Linked DNA regions of Homo sapiens: all the other regions are linked to region 3. The links are contacts of gene promoters, found by promoter capture Hi-C in blood cells and fetal thymus (Javierre and others, 2016). All regions are on one chromosome and are shown on one strand. The core of a region is centred on a gene start or on the middle of the fragment in contact, and the rest is flanking DNA. Distances in the headings are between cores, read along the strand shown.

Region 1 (2,717 bases), core at 169-2,668, 4.8 Mb after region 3:
TGGAAAAAGAGCATCTATCATCCCTGCAGGTCTCAATTCCCCTTAGCATCAGCCCTGCTGTGGCCACAGGCCAATAAAATCCTGAAGCATCAGCCCACCAGCAAGTAGAGCCTGGAAAACATGCTGTTTTCACAAATACTGTGCCTAGAGCATGAATTCGTCCTGTAGGTGTCCATGTGATCATCTGAACCAAGTTTCTCAATCAAACACCCACCCCATGCAGCCTGGCTACCTAACTAGCTACTTGGCCAGAGTCGCAGGCACCTGGGTCTCCCTCCGAAGGAGGGAACCTATTTCTAAATCCTAGTTAGCAATTAAGAGACCTGGCTTTCTTGCTCTCCACTTTCACTAAAAAAAAAATTTCCAGGATTCTTCTTAGGGAGGCCTTTCGACCAGACCTGCCCTGAGAATCCTGCTGCCCCCGGGCAGTGATGTCCGCATTCTTTGACTAGTAACTCCCCTCAGCCATTCTTCTCTCCCTGAATAGGAACCTGAGTTTTGCCTCCCACCCTCTAACTTGGGCTTGGAGCTGCTCATCCCACTCCTGCCCTGGTCATTATACCCTAACCCTTGCCAATCCTGGCTTAGTACCAGTTTGCTTCCTCCTCTGAAGGAATTTCTGCATTTTTGTCAGCCCTAGTCACTTGATTTACGACTCCAAGAGAAGGAAAAAGGTGGGGAGTAGGGAAATAGGAAAAGGAACTACTAGAGACGACAAAAATTAAAACTTCCATCTGCCTCACATATTTTGCCTAGTCTAGAACTGGTTAGTGGCATAGGTTTTAAATTTCATGTACTCAGAATTTCTTCAAAAAGCTTCTCTAACTGTAGCTTCTCTGTTTTGGCTGTAGGACCCTCTCTCAAACAATGCCCCACCAGATTGAGGCCAGCATACCCTGGAGTAGCCAGTTCTGCAGGATCCTGGGTGTCAGCCAAGCTCAAATGCCAAAGTAAATAGAGGAGGGAGGGGGCACAGGATGAAGAGACCAAAGAAAGGGGCATTTCCCAGTCTAGACAGGAGCGCTGCTTTTTTTAAAAGCTGTGTTTTTAAAACTCTGCTCATTCAAAACTGTAAATTCTTAAGAAGTAAGTTTTCCTTTCACTAGTGGCTATCTCACTTTTTTGTTGGTTTGTTTTGCTATATTTACAGCACGGGATAGGTTGGTTTTATTTTTCCATTGCACACAATAGCATTTAATATTTAGCATTTCATCAGTAAGATAGTTATAAAACCCATAGTTCCAAAAGAAATGTAATGCTTCATTGTATGTTAGATGAGTACGTAGAAGCCTTTAATCATAAGTTTATTCAGCATTTTAGATACTTTTGAAATTATTTTTTATAGAATAATTTCATCATAAGTAGCAATATCTCAGATTTATTTAACATATAATTTAAGAGAGGGCAGTGTTTCAAAGTGGAAAACAAACTAGACTAAGAATCAGAAGTTCTAAATTCTAGACCTTTTAATAACTGTTGAAGTTTAGGTAAAGCCTCAGACTTCTCATCTGTAAAATGCAGGAGCTGAAAAAGGAGACTGCTTAATTCAGTTTTTATCCAGCTCAGTAACTTTATATGCCAAGAGTGTAGTGCAGTAAAAAAAAGAAATGCACTTGGATTCAAAAGACTCACATTTTAATCTAAGCGCTGCTTCTAACTTTACTTGTGACATTGAGCATTTACCTTCTCCTGTTTCCCTCATCTGTAATAAAAAGGAAATGGAACAGATGTTGTCTAAGGACATTTCCAGCTCTAAAATTTTATATCAAAGAAAAATGTCTGTGGTGCACATGCTGTCTTCCGTTTGCATGTAAAATGTGATGTTTTGCTCTAAGCAACCTAAGAGAAATACATGTATTTGTAAAGCATTTCCCGAGTTTGCTGGAACACACTTTTATCCCACGAACAGTGAACCTTAAGTTCTCAAGGCAGAAAAGCTGTCTTAAGAGCCTTGTTTGCTTCACCTCTCTTCTGAGTACCTAAGCTCAGGCTCTGCAATTGAGCTTAAACCTTATTACTACAAAGCTTCTTCCAAGTGACTTCTGTAGGCCATAAAGACAACTATAATCAAATTTGGTTTTTACCTCCTGTTTATAAACATGCTTCTTAGGTCAAAAAGCGACTTCTTAAAGGTTAAAAAGCCACTTATCAAATAAACTGAACTTTTAAATTTTCTTACATAAAATGCTTAATCCAAAAGTATTTTTGTGTTTACAATTCCTGGGGTTTTTGTTGTTGTTGTTGTTGTTAAAATGCCTTAACTATTCACATAAAGTATCTTGCTTCAAAAGGAAGTCAGAGCTACAGTCACGAGTGGTTTACAGAATATTTTCTGATAGTCTTTGCTTCATTTCAGTATCGTGCCATGATTGGCTGTTGCTAGCTACAAATAAGGAAGTCTTCAAGTTGGGGGATTTCTCAGTGGAAGTTCCCACTTCAACATAAGGGAGAGCTCTGGACAGTTTGAGCAGCATTGTTAGAGCCTGTGGAAAACACTTTACAACTGTGTAACTGTCTTCATCTTTACAGAGGAATAGTCTACAAAGGAAGACTTGTAACCTGGAGAAGAGGTAATCTAATTTCAATAGTTCCTACTGATTCTTAACCTAGGAAAGGGGCCTGGATGTCTTAAACTGAAGTGTTGCAGATGTGTTACCCTCTTACTCTTGCTATGTGAGTAATTTATGACATGATTCAATAATGCCTTTGTAGTTAAC
Region 2 (2,700 bases), core at 63-2,562, 4.5 Mb before region 3:
GTGGTGAAACCCCATCTCTACAAAAAATACAAAAATTAGCTGGGTGTGGTGGCACGCACCTGTAGTCCAGCCACTCGGGAGGCTGAGGCAGGAGAATCGCTTGAACCCAGGAGGCACAGGTTGCAGTGGGCCAAGATCACACCACTGCACTCCAGCCTGGTGACAGAGCAAGACTCCATCTCAAAAAAACAAAAACAAAAACAAAACCCAACAAATATCTGGCATTAGATTAAATGGTGGATATTCGGAAAAGTGACCCTATTGATAAGACAGCCACACTGTTTAGCAGAAAATAAATAATTTATTCACACTTTCACAATATTCATATCTAATTTTCTAGAACTTAACTTCATTAATTTCTCTATTAATTTCCGCCAAACTGCCATAAATGTCCCGTCAAAAATTACCACAAAATACAGGTTATAAAAACACTACTATTAGCAATTTGTAGTGATACCAGAGCACACACCCTTATTATTTACTACTCCAAGGAGCTGTTGGCAAAGTTCTCATTTATTCTTAACTTACAGAAACAAATAATTTTATCATTGACTCAAAATAGAAAGTGGTGATAACTCTTTTTCTGGCAGCACTAGAGCTCAATTCACAGTCTTGCTAAACCTCACAGCAGATGAAACACTAGCTTTGCTAAAAATAATACAAAATGATGGATGTTAAAACTAGAATAGATCTTATCTACTATAAGTACCATCAGTCTTACAGCAATGTACGTTTTAATATTTGCAATGTAGAAATAAAGTTTACAAGATTTGGAAGCTCCACAGATCCCTGGTGTTCTAGGTGAGAAAACCTAGACCAGAAAACCTGAGAGTTCAAGTGACTGCTTCCCACTCTCCTGCTCCCAACACTAACAGCCAGTCCAGTCAGAGACAGTGCTGATTAGAACTGATTTTCTCTACTTTATGAAAAATCCTCTTATCAGAAAAATTGATACTGCCCTTTCTTTCGGTATCACGTGACCTACACATCTGTGTGTGTGTGTGTGTGCGTAAAAGATACATTAGGGATCACAAGTTCTAGTTCTGCTTGCTTCCCCTAAGCTTCTTAAAAGAGCAGCTAGATCATGAAGGAGGAGGTGGTAGTAGTAGGTGTACATAATAGATGCCACCATTCACGTAAGTCTTTATTGGAAAACTGGGACGTGACACCATCAGCTTACACAACAGAAAAACACAAACTAAGTTCCTGACAGCGGAATGATGAACCACCCAACTTGAGTTAAAAAGAAACAAAAGTACACCACTGTATCTTAATAAGTATCCAGTCTTTGGGTTAAAATTGTATTCTCTTTCCCCAGTTTTAGTCATTTTGTAACAAATTTTAACAAGCCTGATAGGTATTTCATGGCCATGTCTGAAGTTGGCTGAACTTAAGCATCCCTATATAACACACTTTACACTTAGTAACTTGCTAGTTACCTATGGTTAACAAATGTTTCATATGGTATGTTTTTAAAACTTTCAGTGAAACACTTTAACATTTTTAACCCAGCAAAACAAACAAAAACTGTGTCTAATAACCCACACGAGTAGAAAAATGACCTTAAGCTTAACCTTAAACACAGATATAATAAGTAAAACAAATGGAGAGAAGTCCATCTCTATTCAGGAGGCAGAAGAACCCCCCCTGCCCCCAACACACACAAAGACGGGTGGCAGTGGAGGGCAGGCTCATAAACCAGAGGTGTAATGGACAAGTCGAGCGATTCCTCCCGTTTTCCGCATTCTGCAACCCTCGGTCGCTCAGTGGTGCGGTTAGGGCAGCAATCTATAACCTTCATTCCAGAAGACCCCAGCACTTCTATGTGGTGTCCAAACACAACTGGTGAGCAAAGAAAGGGCTGAAAGACAGGCCAGGCCGTGCTACTCAGGGACGTCGGACCTAGGGCAAGAAACCTTTACCACTCTCATTCGAAATCGGAGCAATGGGTCTATTACGGAAAAGACTTCTTAGGAAGGTCTCCTAAGACAAAGGGCTGCGAGTCAGGAACCATCCCCAAGCTCGGGAGCCGGGACCGAACCGTCCCGGGCCCGTATCCGCGCAGCCTGCACCCCGCGCTGAGCTGGCGCCCGACCGAGCCGCCCACATTCCGAAGTATTCGGAGACCCCCACCTAGCCGGCCCGAGCTGACCCTCTCCCCAACCCGTACGCCCGCGGACCGAGCTCCTCACCCTGGTGATTGAACAGTCTCCATATTCTAGTGAAGAGAATTCCCATTCTCGGGCAGCGGACCCCCCCCCTCCAGACACCCGGGCCGCCTGGCTTCCCCCGGCTCAGGCTGAGGGGGAGGAGAGAGACGCGCTGGAGCCTCCGCCTCTGCTGCTGCTCCCGCGCTGGTCGCGGGCCCGCTTCCAGGGAACCGGAGGGAGGCCGAAGCCCAGGCCGCCCTGCCGCGCGCAAGGCCCCGCCGCTGCCGCCGCGGCACTCGCCTGGCTCGCGGACATCGCCGCCGCGTTGTCTGCGACGAGCCTCGCGGGCCACCGTCCTCCCCCAGCTCCTCTCGGGCGGCTGCGGTGGCGACGACCACGCGGGCGGGGGAAGTGAAGGGGCGGGCCTGGAGGGACGTGAGTGCGCAGGCGCGCGGCCAGAGGGGCGGAGCGTAGGAAAGGGCGCCCGCCCTGTCCTCGCTTATTTGCATAACCAAGACTGCGGAAGGCGCAGGACTTTACCCTGGGACTG
Region 3 (2,762 bases), core at 236-2,735:
TTCCTGTATTTCATATTTCTGAGAACTGTCTTCTGTAATTTCCAAAGTGTAGGAATGGTTGAAGTTTGAAAATAAATGGAGAATTTCAAATAGTTAATGAATAGATTTAGGAGCTATACTGAAACAACTAGCAGAAAATACATTTTCTGGAGTTCTTTAATTTTGTACGCTTAAAAGTATGGTGTTCCTAAAGATGGCTAATTCTTGTTGAAGTAAGTAGCTCTGGAAGTCATATTTTCCATTTCTCCATACTTCATCTATTAATCAGTTGACTGGCAATTTCCGACACCAGTTTTGCTAAACTTTATAAATTTTGCTTCCTCCAGAGGTAGGAGGGGGAAGGAGATGGGCAATACAGAAACAGATTTTACAGCCAGAATATGACAGGGCCCCTTAAACTACAAATAGATGTAGAATTTTAAATGTAGCTCTGTAGTTCAATTTATACCACAGAAATTGCGAGATGCTATCTTCCTGTTGTTATAACGTATCAGGTCAAGGGATATAAATTGTACCAGGTAATTCATTTTGCTGTTCAGAGAGTCATTAAGTTCCTCCCAGAATATATGTGATTGATATCCCTGGAGGTGAAAGGCTAAAGGAACCATATGGCAACATGTTGCATTCCGTATGCTATCTGCCCATCCGTGCTTAAGCTGTCATTAGCAACATCTGTACCTTACGGAAATCCAGCTGCGCCGACGACGGCTGACGGAATTGTACTTGGGGGGAAAATCTAGCTTAGCGCCATTAACTTGAGACTTAGAGTCTATCTACCAGGACGGATGGAAGCTTTCACAATTAGACGAGACGACACGAATGCTTTATTAAAGTTTAATTTTGAACTCCCAATTAGCGAAAGTGCATTACAAATCGATTGCAATTTCCTAGAAGGTGCAGCAAGTTCTCTGCCTGCCTGCCACGTGCGAGACGCTCCACAGCGAGCTTCCCCAGCTCCGGGCAGCAGAAAGGGGATGGTTCAGAGCCGATCTCCGCATCCCAGGAAGTCCCTAAAATCCGCGCCAGCCCCTCCTCCCGCAGGGCGGGGGCGTCCACGGCGCGAACCCGCCAGAGGTGTAGGGGGAAGTGTGGGGGGCTGGTCCGCAGCCTTCGAGGGGTGGGGCGACAGGAGCGAGCGGCCGGGGGAGGAGAAAAAGGCGGGCGGCGGGAGAGGGGGCCTCTATTATCTCGGCTTCTCGGGAGGAGCCTCATCTAGTCAGTCACGCAGAAGTTTCTCTTTCGCTCTTCGCGCTACACACCCAGATTGGCTTCCAGCGCGCAGGCGAGTGGGGCGAAGGAGGGGGGACAGGAGTCCCGGAAGGGCCGTCCGGCGTTCACACCCACCCCTGTTCCGCTCCTCCCGCCCCAAACAAAGTCCCCCGACTCTAGGTCCAGGATACGTTACCTGCCCGGCGCTCCCGGCCCCTCGGTCACCGCATCCCCCGCTGGGCGCGCCTGGTACGGGTCCCGCTCCCCGGGGCTCACAAAGTGGTCGCCCCTGGCTGGGCGGCTGGGTAGATGCCCCTCTCTGGACATGTTGGGGCGGTTTTTGGGGTGGAGGGAACGCGGGAAGTGAAAGCGGAGGCTGGGACAAGGGGAACTTACTGATAAAATGGAAAAAAAAAAAGCCCACAGGGCCCAGGTCCTGGCCGGGGGCGAAAGAGGCCTGTTACCTTTCGGGGGGTCGCGGCCGACCAAGAAGGGAGCCGGGGAGTCGCCCGCCCCCCTCCCCCGGCCCCCGGCCCCCGGCCCCCGGCGGCTGCGGCAGCTGCACACAGAAGCCCATTGTCGCCGGCGTCCGGCGCGCAGCCCCGCGGACTCGGCCCCGCGGCCAAGCGCGTCAGCGGCCCCGTCAGCCGGGCCGGGCTCCGTGACGCGCGCGCAGCCCGCGCTATAAATAACCTGCCGCCGGGCGGCTCGGGCGGCTTTCCAGTGACGCTGGGGCGGAGGCGCGGTAGGAGGAGGGCGAAAGGAAACAATAAAACCGCCCGGCAGCCTCCCAAGTCTCCCTCCTCCCTTCCCAGGCCGCCCGCGGCCCTTCGCGTCGAGCTCCTTTTTCCCCGCCCCGGCCCGCCCTGCGGGGAGCGCGGTTCGCGGGTGGGAAGGAGCCCGGCGTGCTGGCGTCCCCGAGTGCTGCCGGGGCCCCGGGGCGGGAGGGGGTTTTTCCCGCACCCTGGGATGGCGAGGAGGGAACTTGGCGACAAGTTTAGTGAGGGGATCGCTGTGTTCCTTTCTAGTCCAGTTAAAATGACCCGAGCTTTTCCCGCTCCCTCACACACCTATTCTAGTACAGGTCGGATGTGTTTTTGGGGTAGTAAGTCCTCAACCGAAAACAAAAGCGAAAAACCTGTCGTCTTCAACGTAAGCATTATCTAGGTTTTTGTGGGGCCAGGCTTGCATTAGTGTTTTCATTCGGGGGGTTGTATTATAGAAAGGGTGCCCCGTAGTAGCAGCGTGAGGAAGGGTTCCAGGACCCAGGCTGTCAGCTCCGGTGCATTTACAGGTCTTTTTGCCGTAGAATTTAGCATAGGCCTGAAACATGGCATAAATGAACTTTCTAAAAGTCTATAATCTCAACGTTAAAGAGCTTACTTTTTAACTCTGGACTTTAATAAAGGCTCCCACTTTAAAAGGGGCTTTCTCTATAGGAAAGTATTAATATTTTTGTGGAGACTCTCACTGCTACCTTCCATACTCAGGCAATTCTGTCACACACCCTGACACTTGTCCTACTCATTAAGGTACCCACATACAACTGGAGG
Region 4 (2,727 bases), core at 207-2,706, 3.4 Mb after region 3:
ACCCACCTTACACAACTCTTTTATCTGCTCTATGTTCAAGAATCGTCTACATTTTGACATTTTATTGTAGGAAAATAATTTTATAATGCAAAATCTGTCAAATATCTTAAAACTTTTTTAGATAATTTGTAATTTGTTGTAGTCAAATTACAAATTATGGAGAGCTTCACATTACAAGAATGAGCTTGACATGGCATCTGCCCTCCACAACTCACTGTTTAGTCATCAGACTAATGTATAAACAACTATTATTATCTTAATATGACTGTACAGTGGTTCTGTGGGAGCATAGGGGAGGGGTGCTTAATCTTGGAAATTTTACAGGATTTATTTATTTATTGCCTGAACTAAGATGTGAAGGCTCACTAGGACTTTGATAAAGAAACTGCAAAGTCATGATATTATGGTTTGTTTTAGGAATTCATGATTTGTTCCTGTAGCTGAAACATACATTGAATGGTAAGTTAGAGCCCGACATAAAAGACTTTCTGTACTGTACTAGAAAATTAGTGTCTGGGTGTGGTGGCTCACTCCTGTAATCCCGTCACTTTGGGAGGCCAAGGTGGGAGGATCGCTTAAGGCTGGGAGTTCAGCCAGGCCACAAAGACCCCATCTCTACGGGCATGGTGGTGCGGGTGTAGTGGTGCGCACTGCTACTACTAGCTACTTGGGCTGCTGAGGCAGAACGATCATTTTGAGCTCACGAGTTGCAGAGACTGCAGTGAGGTATGATAGAGCTCCACTGCACTCCAGCCTGCACCACAGAGTGAGACCCTGTCTCTAAAAAAATAAAAATAAAGTTAGTGCTCTATGCTGCGGAATGGAGAGCTATTGTGTTCCTTAACAAAATAAAAATAATTTTTAGATAATCTTTGCTGATACATCCTTCTGTTACCACAGATAATTAAGTGCCAGTAATAAAGAACAATGGGACATGAATGAATGAAATGCACAGCGTTGCATTAGACTTTACTTTTAAACAACAAATTAACTAATGAAGCTTTTAACTGTTAAATAAGTGAATCAACTGATCACATTAGAATGATTACAATTTAAAAAGAATCGGATTTTGAGTTCCTACTAAGATTACTTGAATTCACCAAAGCAGAATTCAATTGCAGTCAAAAAATTTATCTTAATATACAGCATTTGCTAATCATAGGATGAGCCAAAAAGTCTGAAGTTGGGGAGAATGAAATTATAATTTGAGAGTTTAGGTGGGGGGGGTAATAATTTTGTGTGTGTGAGTGTGTGACAGGGTCTCACTCTGTTTTTTAGGCTGCTGCAGCCGCAGTCTCCCAGACTCAAGCAGTTCTCCCACCTCAGCTTCCTGGGTAGCTGGGACTACAGGTGCGCGCCACCATGTCTGACTAATTTTTATATTTTTTTATAGAGACAGTTTCACCATGTTTCCCAGGCTGGTCTCCAACTCCTTAGCTCAAGGAATCCTCCCACCTCAGCCTCCCAAAGCGCTGTGATTACAGGCCTGAGTGTGAGTCACTGCATGCTGGGGTTTAATTTTCATTAATCTTAATTTTCAGCTTTCTGCCCTGGCATGAACTTACATGGTCAGAGCTGGTTTTTCCTGCCCTCAAATATATTTCTCTGACTCTACCGGTTAGACTAGGTAAGTTGAACACCTGGTTTTAAAATCACCTGCTGCTCTACACCCATTTTTGTCAACAGCTTAAAAAGAAGGCAAGTTTTGAACCTTAAAAGTAGTTATCTTTCCATTATGATCATTGTTCATTAGTGTGATGTTTCATACTTTGTAGAAAGAACCCTAAAATGGTTTCTACTTAAGATCGAAACTTGATGCTTAGAGATTAAATTCATTTCAAGGAGAACAGTTTGCCTTTTACAGTGGTGTAGTGTAGACTTAACATCATAGTCATATTTTCTCATGGGATGTTAAGCTTTTTTCTAATTTTTTAAGATTTGGGCATGTCATATTTTTGTGTTTTAAGTATTTGTCAGCTAAAAGTTAGTTAAGGGAGACTTTTTTTTAAGGCCCAAAATGTTGTATACTTTCAAAGTGATTCCCTCATTGACCCACCCTTAGCTTCCATGTCTCCATGTTTACTATGATTTCCCACTAAGGAAAAAAAAAATTTCCCCAGAAGCAGATTTTTTTTTTTAAGAAAAGGATATGCAAAGTATATGTAAATAATGAAATAGTAACTGCGTGTTTGTATTTCTGCAAGACTCTTGAAATATTGCATTGGGGCTGGGCATGGTGGCTCACTCCTGTAATCCCAGCGCTTTGGGAGGCCGAGACAGGCAGATTGCTTGAGCTCAGGAGTTCAAGACCATCCTGGGCAACATGATGAAACCCCGTCTCTACTAAAAAAAATACAACAATTAGCTGGGTATGGTGGTGCGTGCCTGTAGTCCAGGCTACTCAGGAGGCTGAGGTGGGAGGATCACTTGAACCCAGGAGGTCGAGGCTGCAGTGATTGCACCACTGCACTCTGGCCTGGGCAGCAGAGTGAGACCCTGTCTCCAAAAAAAAAAATGATAGATTACATTGGTATTTTGTGTGATTGCTCTGGCCTTTGTGCCATGAGTTTATCCTATAGTAGTGGTGTACTTTTAGTAATTCAGTACCTGTAATCTTCCCTGGATATTTAAGATAGTTCCCAGGTTAGACTCAGTTAAAATCAGAGTTTTCAGAGACTGCAGGCATAAGATAATGGTATGGTAACAGTAGAAAATAAGGATAAGTAA
Region 5 (2,700 bases), core at 150-2,649, 3.6 Mb before region 3:
CCTGCATGTCCTTTGTGTAGAAAACACAAAAGACATGAAAACAGTATTTACTATGGACACTGAGGAAGAAGACAGCCTCACACATAATTTTATTGATAGAAATCTCTACAGAAAATCTTTATTTTTTTGAGATAGGGTCTCACTTTGTCACCCAGGATGGAGTGCAAGGCGTGATCTTGACTCACTGCAGCCTCGACCTCCCAGGTTCAAGCAATCCTTCTGCCTCAGCCCCCTAAGTAGCTGGGACGACAGACGCACACCACCACACCCAGCTTATTTTTAAATAGTTTTTGTAGAGATGGGGTTTCACCATGTTGCCCAGGCTGGTCTCCAACTCCTGAGCTCAAGCGATGCACCCGCCTCAGCCTCCCAATGGGAAATTTTTGAGTACTGCCATCCAGCAGGGAAAATTCTTTATCTTTCTTTACTAACATTTAACCAGTGATCCTCAAAGCATCTTAAATCACATATTATTTAAAGCTTAAACAACCTGTAAGGTCCCTTTCAGCTATAAGATCCTATAACTCTAAAAGTATGACTTTCCTATAAAGTTATATAGAATAAGAGGCAAATTTAATCTACAAGATAGAAAACTGAAATAAACCTGAAAGAATATTAAGCTCAATTTGATAATCATCAAATATTTATTACTACTAAGAGTCAGCCTAAATGCATGAGATGGCACTCTAGGTCATCTCATGAATTAAGAAAAAAAAAATTTGAACACACCACTTCTTTAAGCTAAATAGCTTGATGCATTTGAGAAATTATGAACCCTGGCTTCCGTACATCATTATGCTACCCAGTCTGCATATTATTTTACAAACAAGTTTTACAGTTTCATGTCATATTGGTAACATTCCAAAGACCACAATTATTTGGCAAGTAAGACTGCCACCAATTTTAGTCTTTAGCTAGTCCCAGCATGAGATGTTCATGCAAACCAGTCAACACATGAAGGTTTTTATAACCTTCAGTCCCAAAGTCTAAAGAATTTGTGAACTGACTTTTTTAAATTGCATGGCAGAACCCTCCCAACTGTCACTACTGTGAATGATACAGACAGACATCCTGCTTCTTCTCAATTATCTTCTGACCACTTATTCCTCCTGAGTACTTCCAAGAGTGGCAGAAGAAATAATGCAGGAAAAAGGATCAATTGTCCTATTTATTATCACCTTTAATTTTTAAAGCAATGTTTACAGAGTTTCAAATATGATTTCTGATTTGAGAATTCAAATTATCCATGCTCTCCCAGTCTGTTATAAAGCTAAAACAAGAATTTGTTTTACCAAGATTTGGGACCCATATTTGTTAGTGAAATATTAAGGGGATAAAAGGGAATTATATAATTCTGACAAAAACAGCGGAGATTCTTTTGGGACTTTCAGGGCATAACTCCTACTAAAACATTTATTTATTATACTAACAGGAGCCTTCAGAGGGAGAAGAATTCTAAACATCTAAATAATTAGGTCTACTTAAAGGCACGTGGCATATATTAGCCTAGGAAAAAGTAGAAGAAAACCACACCAAAAAAATCAGTTATTTGAATGGATGTGTACCGAGTAGCAAGTAAACTTACTAGAAAGATGGTCACTGATACAGCTAAAGAGAAAGGGCCATAAAGCAAACTGTGACCAGCTTATGTCAATGAGATACATGAAAGTACTTTTAAAAAATAAAATCTGCATTTTTTTTTTTAACTAGAACTATGACTAGCTGGTATCTTGGTTTTGGTAGTGCAATAGCACCATTACAGCAAGGGTAAGCAGGTCAATCCCTTGCAAAACTTACCTTGATTGGCCCAATGGAAACAGAAGGCCCCAGAAAAGAGAGAAGCATCTGGCAGTAGCAAATTGTTTTATTTTATCTTTCTGTGGAAAGAAACTAATTTTAAATAAGAACCAGAGCATTTAAAGAATAAATATTTTTAAAGCTCATTATCTAGTTAGAGCAGCTCTACCAAGAAAACAAGAAGAGCTCCTTGCTCCTTAGAGATGGAAAGAAACAGAAGAGGAATCAAAGTTGTTTCTCCATCACCTAGAGAGTTTTAAAATTTGTGTTATTCTAGAGTAACAGAATAAAAGGCTCTTTTATTTAAAGAACTCCTGCAAGCAGAATCTTTTGGGGCTGGTGCCTTTGAATAAAGGTTTTGTTTTGTTTTTTAACAAAATTAAGGGCAATATTCCAAATTAAAAAAAAAAAGAGGAAAATCACTGGACATTAAGCCCTTCTACTCTTAAGGTTAAGTAAAAAGAGACAGACACATAGCAAGCTCCTTTTCCCACTGCAATTTCACCAATAACTTTAACCATGAAAGCTTAAACAATTATCAAACAGTACTAATTAGCAAAAGATCACATGAAATTGGCTTCCAAAATATTTTGTTAGCCTAAATTTTTGATGATTTATGGAAATACTCAAATGGAAATAACCCAGCCACCTAAAGATCTATTATAGAACTTAACATGAAGCACAAAATTACTCATGGTAACTGAACCTGTTACCTTTCTTGGATGCTTCTCTAGAAACTCAGTTCTACCGAAATCACTGAATCAGCATTAAAACCTTTTGATCCAAATCACTCCTACAAAATGTCCATTTACAATTTATGCTAGAGATGGAAGGGACAGCTCATAAGCAGGAGTGTAGAAGCAACAAGCATTAAAAAAAAATAGTATAAGTGGAAAATGAACT

The links. The method cuts DNA at HindIII sites, captures the fragments that hold promoters and counts their contacts. A CHiCAGO score of 5 or more calls a contact.
Region 1: a fragment that was not itself captured here is called in contact with the fragment with the promoter of FLJ46875 in region 3 in 1 of 17 cell types (non-activated CD4 T cells); the score reaches 5.5 in non-activated CD4 T cells.
Region 2: a fragment that was not itself captured here is called in contact with the fragment with the promoter of FLJ46875 in region 3 in 4 of 17 cell types (non-activated CD4 T cells, activated CD4 T cells, total B cells and 1 more); the score reaches 9.6 in non-activated CD4 T cells.
Region 4: a fragment that was not itself captured here is called in contact with the fragment with the promoter of FLJ46875 in region 3 in 1 of 17 cell types (total CD4 T cells); the score reaches 5.7 in total CD4 T cells.
Region 5: a fragment that was not itself captured here is called in contact with the fragment with the promoter of FLJ46875 in region 3 in 2 of 17 cell types (total B cells and total CD8 T cells); the score reaches 9.7 in total B cells.

Annotation. Positions count from the first base shown.
Region 1 is chr2:161,134,494-161,137,210 of GRCh38, forward strand. All of the region lies in intron 2 of TANK-AS1 (TANK antisense RNA 1), which reads right to left. It also overlaps a transcript of TANK not described here. Among named protein-coding and RNA genes, the nearest start is that of TANK-AS1, 24 kb to the right of the region's middle. RefSeq lists an enhancer at 2,305-2,644. The HindIII fragment of the contact is 1,209 bases long and covers 815-2,023 here.
Region 2 is chr2:151,825,939-151,828,638 of GRCh38, forward strand. ARL5A (ARF like GTPase 5A) reads right to left here and starts at 2,483. Exons shown (of 6, transcript NM_012097.4): 1 at 2,193-2,483. The coding sequence starts at 2,238. RefSeq lists silencers at 2,099-2,148, 2,199-2,700. The HindIII fragment of the contact is 507 bases long and covers 1,060-1,566 here.
Region 3 is chr2:156,340,635-156,343,396 of GRCh38, forward strand. It overlaps FLJ46875 (a long non-coding RNA gene), which reads right to left and starts at 1,486. Exons shown (of 1, transcript NR_147695.1): 1 at 1-1,486. RefSeq lists enhancers at 391-946, 947-1,500, 2,708-2,762 and silencers at 1,048-1,147, 1,688-2,297. The HindIII fragment of the contact is 3,407 bases long and covers 791-2,762 here.
Region 4 is chr2:159,714,140-159,716,866 of GRCh38, forward strand. MARCHF7 (membrane associated ring-CH-type finger 7) reads left to right here. Exons shown (of 12, transcript NM_001282805.2): 2 at 418-459; 3 at 1,542-1,627. Among named protein-coding and RNA genes, the nearest start is that of MARCHF7, 3.0 kb to the left of the region's middle. The HindIII fragment of the contact is 916 bases long and covers 999-1,914 here.
Region 5 is chr2:152,712,753-152,715,452 of GRCh38, forward strand. All of the region lies in intron 2 of PRPF40A (pre-mRNA processing factor 40A), which reads right to left. Among named protein-coding and RNA genes, the nearest start is that of PRPF40A, 3.4 kb to the right of the region's middle. The HindIII fragment of the contact is 1,843 bases long and covers 479-2,321 here.